2 separate regions of the Homo sapiens genome follow, and region 1 is linked to region 2. Evidence: promoter capture Hi-C in human tissues and cell types (Jung and others, 2019). All regions are on one chromosome and are shown on one strand. The core of a region is centred on a gene start or on the middle of the fragment in contact, and the rest is flanking DNA. Distances in the headings are between cores, read along the strand shown. Region 1 overlaps FRYL (FRY like transcription coactivator). Region 2 holds the start of SLC10A4 (solute carrier family 10 member 4).

Region 1 (6,476 bases), core at 1,265-3,764, 50 kb after region 2:
CGCTTACAAGCCTTCATTCACACATTCTCCATTTCTTTGCATTTAACCTCCCCTCCCCAAACTGCCATAGATGCCTGTCTAGAATTACTTGTCTTTCAACACTCAGCTCAGATGTTGGTTCCTTTCTGAAACCACTCCTTTAGATAGATGCTACATACTCCCCTAGCACTTTTAATGTATTCCAGCCGAGTGTTGATTACTATGTTTAGTTGTTAAGCTAAACACTGTTGGGAAGCTAAGTTGTGGCGTTTCTTTTAGATGGGGAATGTATAGTCTGTTTCTCTAACAGACAGTAAGCTTTCTAACAGCAGGCCTTCTCCCCATCCCCACTTGGTTGTTCATAACAGCTATCATATTGTCTAACACTGGGTATGAGCTCAATCAATGTTTGTTAAATCAAAGAATGAATAAATAAACAAATGAAAATTCCTAGTAGAGTAACTTCATCAATTTCTGAGCATCTTACCTCAGATATATCAAAATGAAAATCTAAGGTCTTCCCAGGCAACTCCTTAGAAACATTATTAAAAATTTTAGTGAAGGATATTTCAGGAGAACCTGTATCTCCTCCATAGGTCTTGGGGATATCACTGGGTACGACAAGACTCGCAGAGCGTGACACCACCAGCTTTAATATGTTAAGGGCTTCCTTCCAGTAAGGACTCTGGTTTAAAAAATAATTGACACGTAAAAGTTACAAATGCACATTCAACTAAGAACAACAATTTACTGTACACCATAAAAATATTATTTCTACAAAAATACTTGTAAAAATTATTCATTTTGAAGATCCTTAATGAAAGGTTTGAGTTACAAAAGGAAAGAAAACACAAGTTATTATTTGTACTGTTAGATTTATCAGATACCATATGTGTAATAATGCTACCCAACTGAAATATCTTGCTTTTCTCCCAATAAGTGCTTTGTAATTATCATTAATTTGGACAGACTAATACAGTAACTTGGCAGTAGTGGTAAACAAAACATTTGTATATACGTCAGCTTTTAGCTGAATGAAGTTTATAGCTTTGAGACTCTAAAATTTAAGTATTTTAAGTCTTTGCAGATAAAAATTTTTTAACGAATACCTTCCTTTTTAGACATAAAAATATTAAAATACTAAAATACAGTTAAGTCTTTTTTTCTTGATGGCCCAGGCCCCAAATACTGAGAGTAGATACCATGCTAATGTGATGTTCTCAGGGATTACTGAGTTGTGTAGGGTGAGGTTTTTTTTTCTTCCCTACATATTTTGGCTATTTTAAAAAAATTTTTCTGCTTGTCTTAGTTTTGTATATTCCTACCAATGAAATCTAGGAATTATTTATGAGCTAGATGTATATGTAGAGAACAGTGAATGTTTGATAAAGACTTTATAATATCTTTCTTTTACCACCCACTGAAAAGGATACATAGAAAAAACTACTTCTTACTTATGGTACCAAAAATCACATCTCAACCTTGTATTATATTATACATATTCTTTCACAGCTGATATCTGAGGAAGGAAAAATAACCATTAAGACACCAAAAAAGGAAGTAAAAAATCTTTGGCAGAATTGGGTTATCCAATTGAGTTCATAACATCTTGCTATGAAGACACCTAAAACACAAAATACTTGATAATAAAAAGGTCTACATGATACTGTGACATTTTAAGAACAGCACTGTAAAAAGTAGTTTAAAGGCCGGGAGCAATGGCTCACGCCTGTAATCCCAGTACTTTGGGGGGCCAATGCAGGCAGACCACTTGAGGTCAGGAGTTTGACACCGGCCTGGCCAATGTGGTGAAACCCCATCTCTACTAAAAATACAAAAATCAGCTAGGCATGGTGGTATGTGCCTCTAATTCTAGCTACTTGGGAGGCTGAGGCAGGACAATCCTTGAACCCAGGAGGCGGAGGTTGCAGTGAGCCAAGATCGCACCTCTGCACTTCAGCCTGGGCAACAGAGACTCCATCTCAAAAAAAACAAAACAAAACAAAAAAAAGTTTATATTTAACAAAATCATGACTAAGTAGAAATAATCATCATATTTTTTCTGACAGAAATAATTACAATCTCTGGGCATCATGAAATGCTAAACTTTAGGGATGTTTTCATAAATTATATTGCTGGTTGTGTTTAAATGTAAAAGACTATCGATAATTCAATTCTGTGAAATATTTAGTTGTTTAATAAAGCACAAGCCAGCAGCTGTGATGAGCCATCAGCTAAATATGATCTTGATTCACACATTTATAAAGAAATCTGGAAAAAAAATTGAGTCAACATTTTAAAATCAGGAGATTTTACAGAAAAATGTAGATTTCCAGCTTCTCTTAAAGTGAGAAGTCTGCCACACTGGACCCATATTCTAACATGAAAACCACCAGAGGAAGCTAAGTTGTGTTTCTCCTTTGAGATGGGGAGTGTGCAGTTCACTTAGCCACAAATCTATGCTCCTTCTGGTTATCTGCTTGTCCACTGGCAAGTTGAGCTTGTGGTTCTGAACATAAGAAATGTACCTATGGTTCAGAAGGTAGTGAATTCAATGTGGTATATGTTTCTATGTGAAATATAGCAAATATTTTATAAGTTTTTTTTTTTTAAGGCTTAAGAAGAAAAGAGAAATGTGCTTTAGAAAGAGATATAACTGCTATCTGGTAAAGCCTCACTCACTGAAGGATAAGACACAAGATAAATAGGGCCACCAGAAAATCTCCCGTTTTTTTGATATCTGCAATCACTGATTTTCAAGGGAATGTAAGAGGTAATGTGGATTACATAACTGAATCACTGAAAACATTTTACTACAGTTTTATTACTTTCAGATATGAACTAGAATAAATTCCTTGCCAGCTAAGTATTTCCCATTCTAAGTTCTGCTCTAGTGAATGCAAACGTAACTGGAGTATAAACACAACATATTAATCTATTAAGGTTGTTAATGAGCTTGTTCTCTTTGGTGAGTTGTATCCATCCTACTGATCTGCTCAGCAATGCAAAGCTTTCTTAACTGGTAGCTCAAACCGACAGCTTAACTGAATTTCAAAGGTGAAATTCAGCAAAGACCAGGCCGACTTGTCATCATTTACATTTAAATCAAGTTTAATTTTCCACTTTCTAAATATCTGGCACTTTTTATCAGACACACAAAAAAATCTCTAAAATGCAAACTCTTCAAAGAGGTTTTCTGTTTCTAAAAGTAGTGTATGCCCACTAAGTAGAATCTCGTTAAAAAACAGAAAGGTACGAAGAAAGAAAGAACAATGAGGCCAGGCACGGTGGCTCACGCCTGTAATCCCAGCACTTTGGGAGGCTGAGGTGGGCAGATTACCTGAGGTCAGGAGTTCGAGACCAGCCTGGCCAACATGGTGAAACCTATCTCTACTAAAAATACAAAAATTAGCTGGGTGTGGTGGTACATGCCTGTAATCCCAGCTACTTAGGAGGCTGAGGCAGGAGACTCACTTGAATCCAGGAGGCAGAGGCTGCAGTGAGCCGAGACTGCGCCACTGCACTCCAGCCTGGGCAACAGAGCAAGACTCCTTCTCAAAACAAAAACAAAAACAACCAATGAGTCACAGTCCTAATTTCCAGAGTTTTGACTGCTGCAATGTGTATATGCATTCCTTCCTGTCATTACAGAACATTACAGAAATTGTTAATACGAAAAGTAGAAATCATACTAATTCTGATTCTGGTTTTTGTCACTTACATTGAGAACATTTTCCATACTGCAAATATCCTGAAAACACGATTTATGGTTGAACCACTTCCCCATTCTTCGACATTTAAGGCATTTCCAATATTGTGTGATTATAAATCATTTTTAGATGAAAAATGTTATATGTAAGTTTTGTGGTCACTCACCTGTACATATTTGCCAATAATCTTTATGATCTCCAGATTAAACTGCTTGGCTGGGGCTGCAGACAGGTCAATATGACTCAATAGACTATAAATAATCTGTAGTAATGATTGCTGCATACTGGACAATCCTTTCTCTAACAGCTAAAAATAATGTTAAAAGTAATATTAAAGTATACTTTAATCAGGTTGAATAAAAACTCAATATTTACATTTGACAGGTTGGAAAACATAGATTTAGCCTATGAGTTTATAGTTATGTGGATTAGAAATCTAGAGACTAATAAAGTGAAAGGCAGAGTCTATTACTGTTATTTTTCCTTGGTTCAGAAAGGAGAATTAGACGATAACTTTTCATCTAAATCATGGTGTTTTATTTCCTTAACTAATTTAGTAGGTATTACTTTATTATAAACTGACAAACATTTTTAGTGACTAGGAATCTCTTGCTTTTGACTTTCTCTTTGTGCCTATCTACTTAGTAATTTACTTTTCTGGGTATAAAGTTACTTCTTAGGCATCAAATAGATATTAACTTTTTGTGCTGTTCTAGGGCTACTTTATCATCCATTTTTTGCTGTCTCAAAATCATATTTTAGATAGGAAGCAAATGTATCATCAAACTAAAAACTTTTCCAGAAGAAATACTTTTGTATGCTGTAATTATTATTCTAGAAAAGATTTCTAAGCTAAAACCTAATTTTGTAGAAATAAAAATTATAACCATTCTCTAGGATCAGGACCACTAAAAACCCATTTTCCATTTTTAATTAGGTAAAGTGTATATTATTTTGAGTTTCATGTCACTTAAGGACAGTAAATAAGGATATAAACACTGGACATGGAAAAAAAACCCACCTTTATAAAAACTTCTTTTACACTTGATAGGAAGTAACTTATATTTTTATCTTAAAAAATTGTTAACTATGTTGACTGTCAGACAATTTGAATATCAGTTAATACCAGTGCTGCTTCTGCATATAAATCAACTTGATAAGGTGCCACAGAGTAGTTAAAATATATATATGTGTATATATATACACATACACACACACACACACACACACACACACATATATATATAGTAAATAAGAAAATATTTTTGGTAAATTTACCTCTGCAAGATAAGTCACAAGATTAAATGTTGTATCTGAGAAGGAGTCATGCAGGTATCTGCACACGACATTGATCCAGTTAGAACAGTCTCTGGAATACGTGTGTGTACTGTACAAACTCATCATGTGTGCCAGATTGACAAGTGTTGGGCATTTTTCTTCTGCACAAACCTAGAAAACAAATAAAATTATTTCATTCACCTAAAATAAAGACACAAGTTTAACTTGATTTTATGCTAAATGTATTCGCTTAATGAAATAATTTAGATGTATATTGGTTTTAATGCATTTTACTTCAATACGTTAGAAAAGTGAAACGAGAAAAAAAGCACAAGGCATTCTTCACAGAATAGTAAGAGCTAATACAGAAAGAGGATTAATGTCTTTGTGGGTACTAAATAGTACGGCCTTCTTCAGTCTGAAGATCTGTAAACTGTCTCTGGCAGAAACCATGTATGGTGTGAACTCGGGACATCATTTTGGAATTGCTTTGTCAAACCCAGGATGGATCAGTGCACAAGTGACTACACAGGCAGATATAACTAGGGAATTCTCAGGGAGGCTCCGAGCTGCTGTGACTGGGAGGAAATGCTTCAGCCTCCAGCTGTGCCCGGGGTATCTCAGTAGAGCAGTCAGTTGCAAACAGCCTCAACATGTGTGACAGTCAAAGGACATCACTGGGGCTCTGATGAAATCTGGAGTCCAGAATCTCCAATGGATGACAGTCTGCATGGTGGACCTCAAACTGCTCTTCCGGAAATCACCTAAAGCTCTAAGATCCTCGGCCAATCTTTTAAAGGCTACTCCAAAATGTACTGACTCTCATGTTTGTTTGATACAATATTAAAGAATCTGAACCAACTAATGTTTGGGGGGAATTTTACTGACTGAATGCACTTCTTAGTCTGTTTGTTCCCTGGGTTATTGGTGAGGATGTTCCCTGGCCTCTCCCAGGGGACACCTGAGCTATGCAGAACTGGAAAAAGGCCATGCTACTCTTACATACCAATCTGTCATAAAAGGCTAACCTCATTGTCATTTCTGCTTTTAGTTTTCCTTTTCCTTATTCTTCTATCTTATGGATGTTTTGTATGTATTTTTACAACTACCTACAGCATTTGGTAAAGAAACTGTCCTTTTAAATATATACATCTTCAACTTTCAAATGAATATCACTAATTTTGGTAATTCGGAAGATGTTTAATAGGCTTGGAGGGCCTCAAATTCATCATTTGGACATTATCATGGAACAAGCACAAAATATAAAGGTTATGCAAGGTCGTGCATAGACTATTAACACAGTAGTACCTGGGAAGTTATTTTATACAATCATTAAAACCAGCTGATTTCATGCAGTAGTGTTTTGCCCATAAAACAGACACCAGAAAGAAAAAGAAAAAATGGGTTGGTATCTCTTATTTGCATTTCAAAATATAATAATTTAACATATTATTAAAAATCGCATAATTTTATAACTTCTCAAGTTGTTAAATTCTTTAAAACATAAAA
Region 2 (6,320 bases), core at 1,101-3,600:
AGAATACTTCACTTCACCAGTGTCACCACACCAGTGTCATCACACCTGGAGAATGGGCTTAAACCTAATCCTGGGGTTTTCTCATACATAGTGAGGAAGATGAGAAAGAAGGGGAGGCCAGAGCACCTGTTTTCTTTACAATGACAATCACCCCATCAGCAGGAGTGACATCAGGTGTGTAGGTCCCAAGAATCCCCCAAGATTGCAGGTGCAACATGCCCCATGATTTACAATCGCAGCCCATCATCCCCTTCTTTTTTATTTTTTCAGATGGAGTCTCAGTCTGTCATCCAGGCTAGAGTGCAGTGTCACGATCTTGGCTCTCTGCAAACTCCACCTCCCAGGTTCAAGCAATTCTCCTGCCTCAGTCTCCTGTGTAGCTGGTACTACAGGCACACACCACCATACCCAACTAATTTTTGTCTTTTTAGTCCAGATGGGGTTTCACCATGTTGGCCAGGCTGGTCTCGAATTCCTGTCTTCAAGTGATCCACCTGTCTCAGCCTCCCAAATTGCTGGGATTGCAGACAAAAGCCATGATGCCAGGCCCCTTTCTGTTTTCAGTCTTCGCCCATTGCACAAGTTGCCGCCCAAGTCCCTCCCTAAACCCTGAGAGGAGGTAGTTGGATGAGTTGAGTTGGTCTGCCTCTAATTACTGCTTATTTAATGTGATTGTGAATTTTAATATCATTAACATGATGAGGGTTTCTGAGGCAAATAGGAGTGGTGCCTGCACAGTTGGCTTCAGCTGGATCCCTTGCCATTTGTGTTCTTGGCTTATCTCATTCTGTGGTTTCAAGACTGTGAAGGCTCAGCAGTGCCTTCCCTCCTTATCTTGTCTGTTTCTCCACACATCTTCCCTGGGTCTACTAATGTAACGGTTGGGTAGCATGGATCATTGTATATCTGAATATCTTTCTTTTTACCTACATAAGGTGACATGTCAACTTAAAATATTTTTGGTCACAACCCACTTCCTTTAAAGTTTAGCTCACTGAAGTTTTTTTTTCTGGGTTTAGTGTTTTGGAAAAGTGTAAGGGTACATTATCCTCCTAGATTCTTGCAAAAGCTCTGCCCTCGTGGAATTTACAGTCCAAAAGAGAAAAAATAAATTATTTGTGATGAAGAGTGCAATATGCTTTGCATTTGCAAAGTCTTACTTTTCATAGTCTCCATCATCTTCATGAGATTTGGGGAGGAGGAAAGGCTCAGCCCACCCTTGGGTAATAGAAGTCACTCTGTGCCAGGACAGGAGTTAGGGAAAAGTTCCCAGATAGAAGAATTCACTATATCTTGGCTCCTTGTGAAAGCAACCCTGGGCTAAGACTGAGCCTTGATTTCATTCTAGAAATTCCTGTTGGTTTTTACAACTCAACTGACTATCACTTTATGGTCACCCCCAGGGAGCTAGATGCCTCCTTAACAGGCCCCACCTGGTTGGTAAGCAGCGAAATTATTTTCCTTTCTACATGCCATCTAGTGACTGACTTAAAAGTTGTTGCATCTCCATTCCTAAGAGCTCTGCTTTTGAATTGTTTTGGGATAAACCTGTCTCAAGCAGGGAATCTCAGCACTTTATTTCTTTTCAGTCCTTTAATCCTAATGCCAGGGCCTTACTCATAAAGCTTCGTAAATCTGTGGCCACTGAAATATCCTCTCTCCACCTGCCAATAACTTCTTAAACACACATTTTTCATGGAAATTGTTATTAGCCAAGCTCTTCTCTGCCCTCTTTAGGGACACATCGCCGTGCAGATTCAGCCAGGTACTTGTGGGTTCGGTTGATAAGACTGAGAATTCCTCGTTCCTCAGTTTCCTCGTTTGTAAAAATCGAGCTTGTAAAAATGGTATCTATCTCACGGCTTTGCTGTAAGAATCGAATGAAATAATGCACACGCACTTGCACAAAACCCGCTATATTATTATTACATTCTACTTTAAGACTGAAAATCATGCAAAAAATTGTTTGCAAATTCAAGCCAGATATCGTGTCCTGCTTACTAGAGAATCGCTCATATTAAGTCAAGCACCCCTCTTAGGGCTGCAGGCTATAGGAACAGTTTCTGCCATGAGCGTGCATCGATGAGGTTATCCACCCGCCCCCTCCACTTTGTGTGTCTGGGTCTCCAGATTTCATTATAAAGAGGCAGAGCCCATCAGAGAACTTGATCGGCAGCCAGGAACGGTTTTTTCCTGCTCTGGTCCTTTGTCAGGTCTTTGTTCCGCCCCTGGCTACACTCGATAACAGAACCACTTACTGGCGATTCACAGGAGGGGACCGGGCGGCAGGGCGGGGCGGGGCCTGCGGGGCGCGGGGCCGCGGCGCGGAGCCGGCGCAGCGATTGGGTTCACCCGGGGGGCCGCGCTGCGCGGAGTGCCAGGCTGCGGGCGGCTGCAGACCTGGGAGCGGAGACCGGCCCGCCGCCCCCGACGCCGCCGAGCACGTCAGCGGCGCGCAGCCGGGGCTCGGAGACCGACGGGCAGAACGACGGGCGGCGACTGCGGCGACCGCGGGACGGCGAGAGGCACGCGGCGGGAGGGGACCGGAATCCGCAGCTCCGGCCGCGCCATGGACGGCAACGACAACGTGACCCTGCTCTTCGCCCCTCTGCTGCGGGACAACTACACCCTGGCGCCCAATGCCAGCAGCCTGGGCCCCGGCACGGACCTCGCCCTCGCCCCTGCCTCCAGCGCCGGCCCCGGCCCTGGGCTCAGCCTCGGGCCGGGTCCGAGCTTCGGCTTCAGCCCCGGCCCCACTCCGACCCCGGAGCCCACGACCAGCGGCCTCGCGGGCGGCGCGGCGAGCCACGGCCCTTCCCCGTTCCCTCGGCCCTGGGCGCCCCACGCGCTCCCGTTCTGGGACACGCCGCTGAACCACGGGCTGAACGTGTTCGTGGGCGCCGCCCTGTGCATCACCATGCTGGGCCTGGGCTGCACGGTGGACGTGAACCACTTCGGGGCGCACGTCCGTCGGCCCGTGGGCGCGCTGCTGGCAGCGCTCTGCCAGTTCGGCCTCCTGCCGCTGCTGGCCTTCCTGCTGGCCCTCGCCTTCAAGCTGGACGAGGTGGCCGCCGTGGCGGTGCTCCTGTGTGGCTGCTGTCCCGGCGGCAATCTCTCCAATCTTATGTCCCTGCTGGTTGACGGCGACATGAACCTCAGGTACGGATCTGTCTATTCCTTGGGCATCTGTCTCATCCCAGACGCGCGTTTACGGCCGTGGGCTCACGACGAAGGACAGAGGCAGTGGAGGGGTTGGAATTAGGCGTGGAGGAAGGAGGAGAAAAGGAGAGGAAGTTGATGACGCCCCGGCTTTAGAAGTCAAGGCCGACCTGCAGGTTGTGCTGCTAGGGGAGCAAGCTAGACGGCGAGGGAGCTGCTCCAAGGCTGGGATTCCATGCGCAGCGCGGCCCTTCAGCAGGGTCCCTCGCCGTCCTCCCCGAGCGTCGGGGTGGCAGCGCAGGTCGTTGTCCAGTGGAAGACAAAGAGAAGGGGGAGTCTGAACTAGAACTCGCCGGCAACGTAAAAGTAAAATAGGGCTACTGGCCCGTCAGAGAAAGTAATCTCACATAGAGTGCAGGATTGTTGAGTCCGACCAACAAGTAGCAGTCAGCAGCTTTACCATGGCTTACCTTGCAGGGGGCTTGCAAGGAAGAACGTTCCTTCCCCTCAGAATCATCCAGGCTCAATAGACTTTATAATGTCGAGGGCAGCAGTACCGAGACAGGGGGCTTGTTTTTCCTCCCTGCCTTGGGTTCATAATTCCATCGGTGTTAGACGTGCTGCTCTCTTGGCACTCTCCTCGGATGTAGGTTCTGCCCAGACTTCAACCCCGGGACTTGCAGTCTCCCCGTTCCACCTCTACTCAACATACAAGAAAAAGGTTAGCTGGCTGTTTGACTCAAAGCTCGTTCTGATTTCTGCACATTCCCTTTTCTGCAGCATCATCATGACCATCTCCTCCACGCTTCTGGCCCTCGTCTTGATGCCCCTGTGCCTGTGGATCTACAGCTGGGCTTGGATCAACACCCCTATCGTGCAGTTACTACCCCTAGGGACCGTGACCCTGACTCTCTGCAGCACTCTCATACCTATCGGGTTGGGCGTCTTCATTCGCTACAAATACAGCCGGGTGGCTGACTACATTGTGAAGGTAAGGCCCCCTCTTCCCTTTCCATACTAGCTTGGAGAGCCCTTGATCTCTGACCCACAGCAGAAATGTTAGGAAGTTTGGAGAAGGCGGAAAGGAAGAAAAGGACTTGGAAGTAGTTGCATGGATAAAATTTTTTTTAAAAAGTTTATGCTACAAAGATAACTTCCACTTTTGGGATTCCTAGAATGACAGCTTTAATTAAGACACAGCTTAATCAAAACCAGCATAAGAGAACTATCAGTACTCATTGGAAGGAAACAGATCATAGCAGGGTGGGGAAGATGACAGTGTAATTAAATGGCAACATATTTTCCACTAATTGTATATAATTAAACATAAAAGCAGATTAAATAAAATTACTTTAATAGAATTGGTGCAGTATTTTAGAAATGCATGGCTATCTTTTCAAAAATGGAACTCTAATTCTGAGAAACTCTGTAGTAGGTTCCTTTAACATTTTATTAAATTTTTAAAAGTAAGTTGATACTAATAGGACAAAAAGTAATGGAAAAGTTACATTGTAGTAATAGAACACACAAAATATTGGCTTTAAAGCACAAAATAAAATTGGGTCCTGGATAAATAATGGAGGTTATGTTGACCTTACTAAATGTGTTTCTTTTTCTTTCTCCATTGCAATATTTTATATGGCTTATAAAGCTAGTGAAAAGATAGGGGATTTCTATAATTTGTGCAATATTTCTCCTAAGGCTTTGATTTTTTAAAAAATGAATGCTTTCTGTAGCAGTAGAGATTTTAATAGTTTAGTAGATTCTAGTAGTTGACTGGAGGAAAAAAAATCTTTGCAAAATTAAGCTGTCTTTGAAAATTCAAAAACAGTAGCAAAAAAGAATAAACCATGACCAGGATGCTGACTTCAGGTAATTAATCAAATAAAATACGTAACTATTACTGCAAAATGCACAGGCAAATTCCTTTAGACAAATGAAGAGAAAAAGAGCCACCCTAATGTTTCAATTATGTAGATTCAAGAAGACATAATCTTTTGTTTTACTTATTTTCTAAAGTAATTTGATTATATAGAGTCAGCTTTTATTAATATGAAAAGTAGAGAGTTCTTTTCTGTGCATATATCCAGGCTTGAGTAAAAGAAATCCTGCTCCATAATACACATGTATATGTGAATGTAAAAATGTATGTGTACATGTAAATATGCATATATTAATACCTGTAATATATACTCATAGATACTCTTGAGATGCATTAAGAACTTGTTAATCTTAATCATTAAGCTAATGCTATTAATGTGATGGCATTTACTATAAAACCTTAGGAAGTCTAAGAGAAAGTCAATCAAATGACCTATTTACACACCCAAAACAAGAAATATATTTAAAATAAATATATTAATAAATTAATATATTTAATATTTAAATATAATAGACATAAGATTAGCTACCTTTGAATTTAAGGTTAACCTAGCCCTATTCTTTAATTAACACACTATTAAGAAACGGTTTATATAATTGTTACACCTTTGCAAACACTTCAAAATGAGCATTCAATGTCAATGCTTGCCCAAATGATTTAAAATAGTTCTAAGGGACTTTGGAGCCAATATTTCAAAATGAAGAAATCAGACTGTTTGTCAGCGCTTTCAATGTGACATACTTTGAAATGGTATGCTTTTACATGTAATAGCCTGGTTTCTGCCAATTATGCATCTGTAGTATCTGTACCTTATATAATAATTATTGCAGCATCCTCTAGGGTAGAATTTGTGACCAGCTCAGATAAATTTTAAATAATTTTTTAAGAGTGTAGAGTTACGCCATTCCCGAAGACTGCAAAAGGGATATCCCAGCTATCCAGGGAACCAGAAGCAACATTTAAGCTGTTCTCTCTGGCTCTAGTTTCCTTTCCCTGCCCACTCCTCATTAAAAAAAAATAAGTTAACTACCAATATGAAGGAGAACGAGGAGAGGAATTTTTAGATTTCCGCCTTACAATTCATACAGACTGTTTTATTTGAATGAGTGAAATGTACCAGTCAGAACATCAAGATGACACGTTTTATACAGAAGTCAGTTGTACTGTATCCGAAATCCATCTATTGTAATAATACGTAAGCATCATTACAGACTTATAGATGGGAGGTTTCTCATGAACAAATAAAAAAGGGGAAAGTTGCCAAATTGCAAAGAATTCT

What was found. The method cuts DNA at HindIII sites, captures the fragments that hold promoters and counts their contacts. A contact is called where the count stands out against the background at its distance.
Region 1: a fragment that was not itself captured here is called in contact with the fragment with the promoter of SLC10A4 in region 2 in 2 of the 25 tissues and cell types used here (IMR-90 fibroblasts and thymus).

Annotation. Positions count from the first base shown.
Region 1 is chr4:48,530,690-48,537,165 of GRCh38, forward strand. It overlaps FRYL (FRY like transcription coactivator), which reads right to left. Exons shown (of 64, transcript NM_015030.2): 48 at 4,968-5,138; 49 at 3,856-3,996; 50 at 467-664. Among named protein-coding and RNA genes, the nearest start is that of ZAR1, 44 kb to the left of the region's middle. The HindIII fragment of the contact is 5,937 bases long and covers 1-5,483 here.
Region 2 is chr4:48,480,993-48,487,312 of GRCh38, forward strand. SLC10A4 (solute carrier family 10 member 4) reads left to right here and starts at 2,351. Exons shown (of 3, transcript NM_152679.4): 1 at 2,351-3,159; 2 at 3,940-4,150. The coding sequence starts at 2,570. RefSeq lists a cis regulatory region at 621-1,016 and silencers at 2,271-2,320, 2,401-2,530. The HindIII fragment of the contact is 6,923 bases long and covers 1-4,181 here.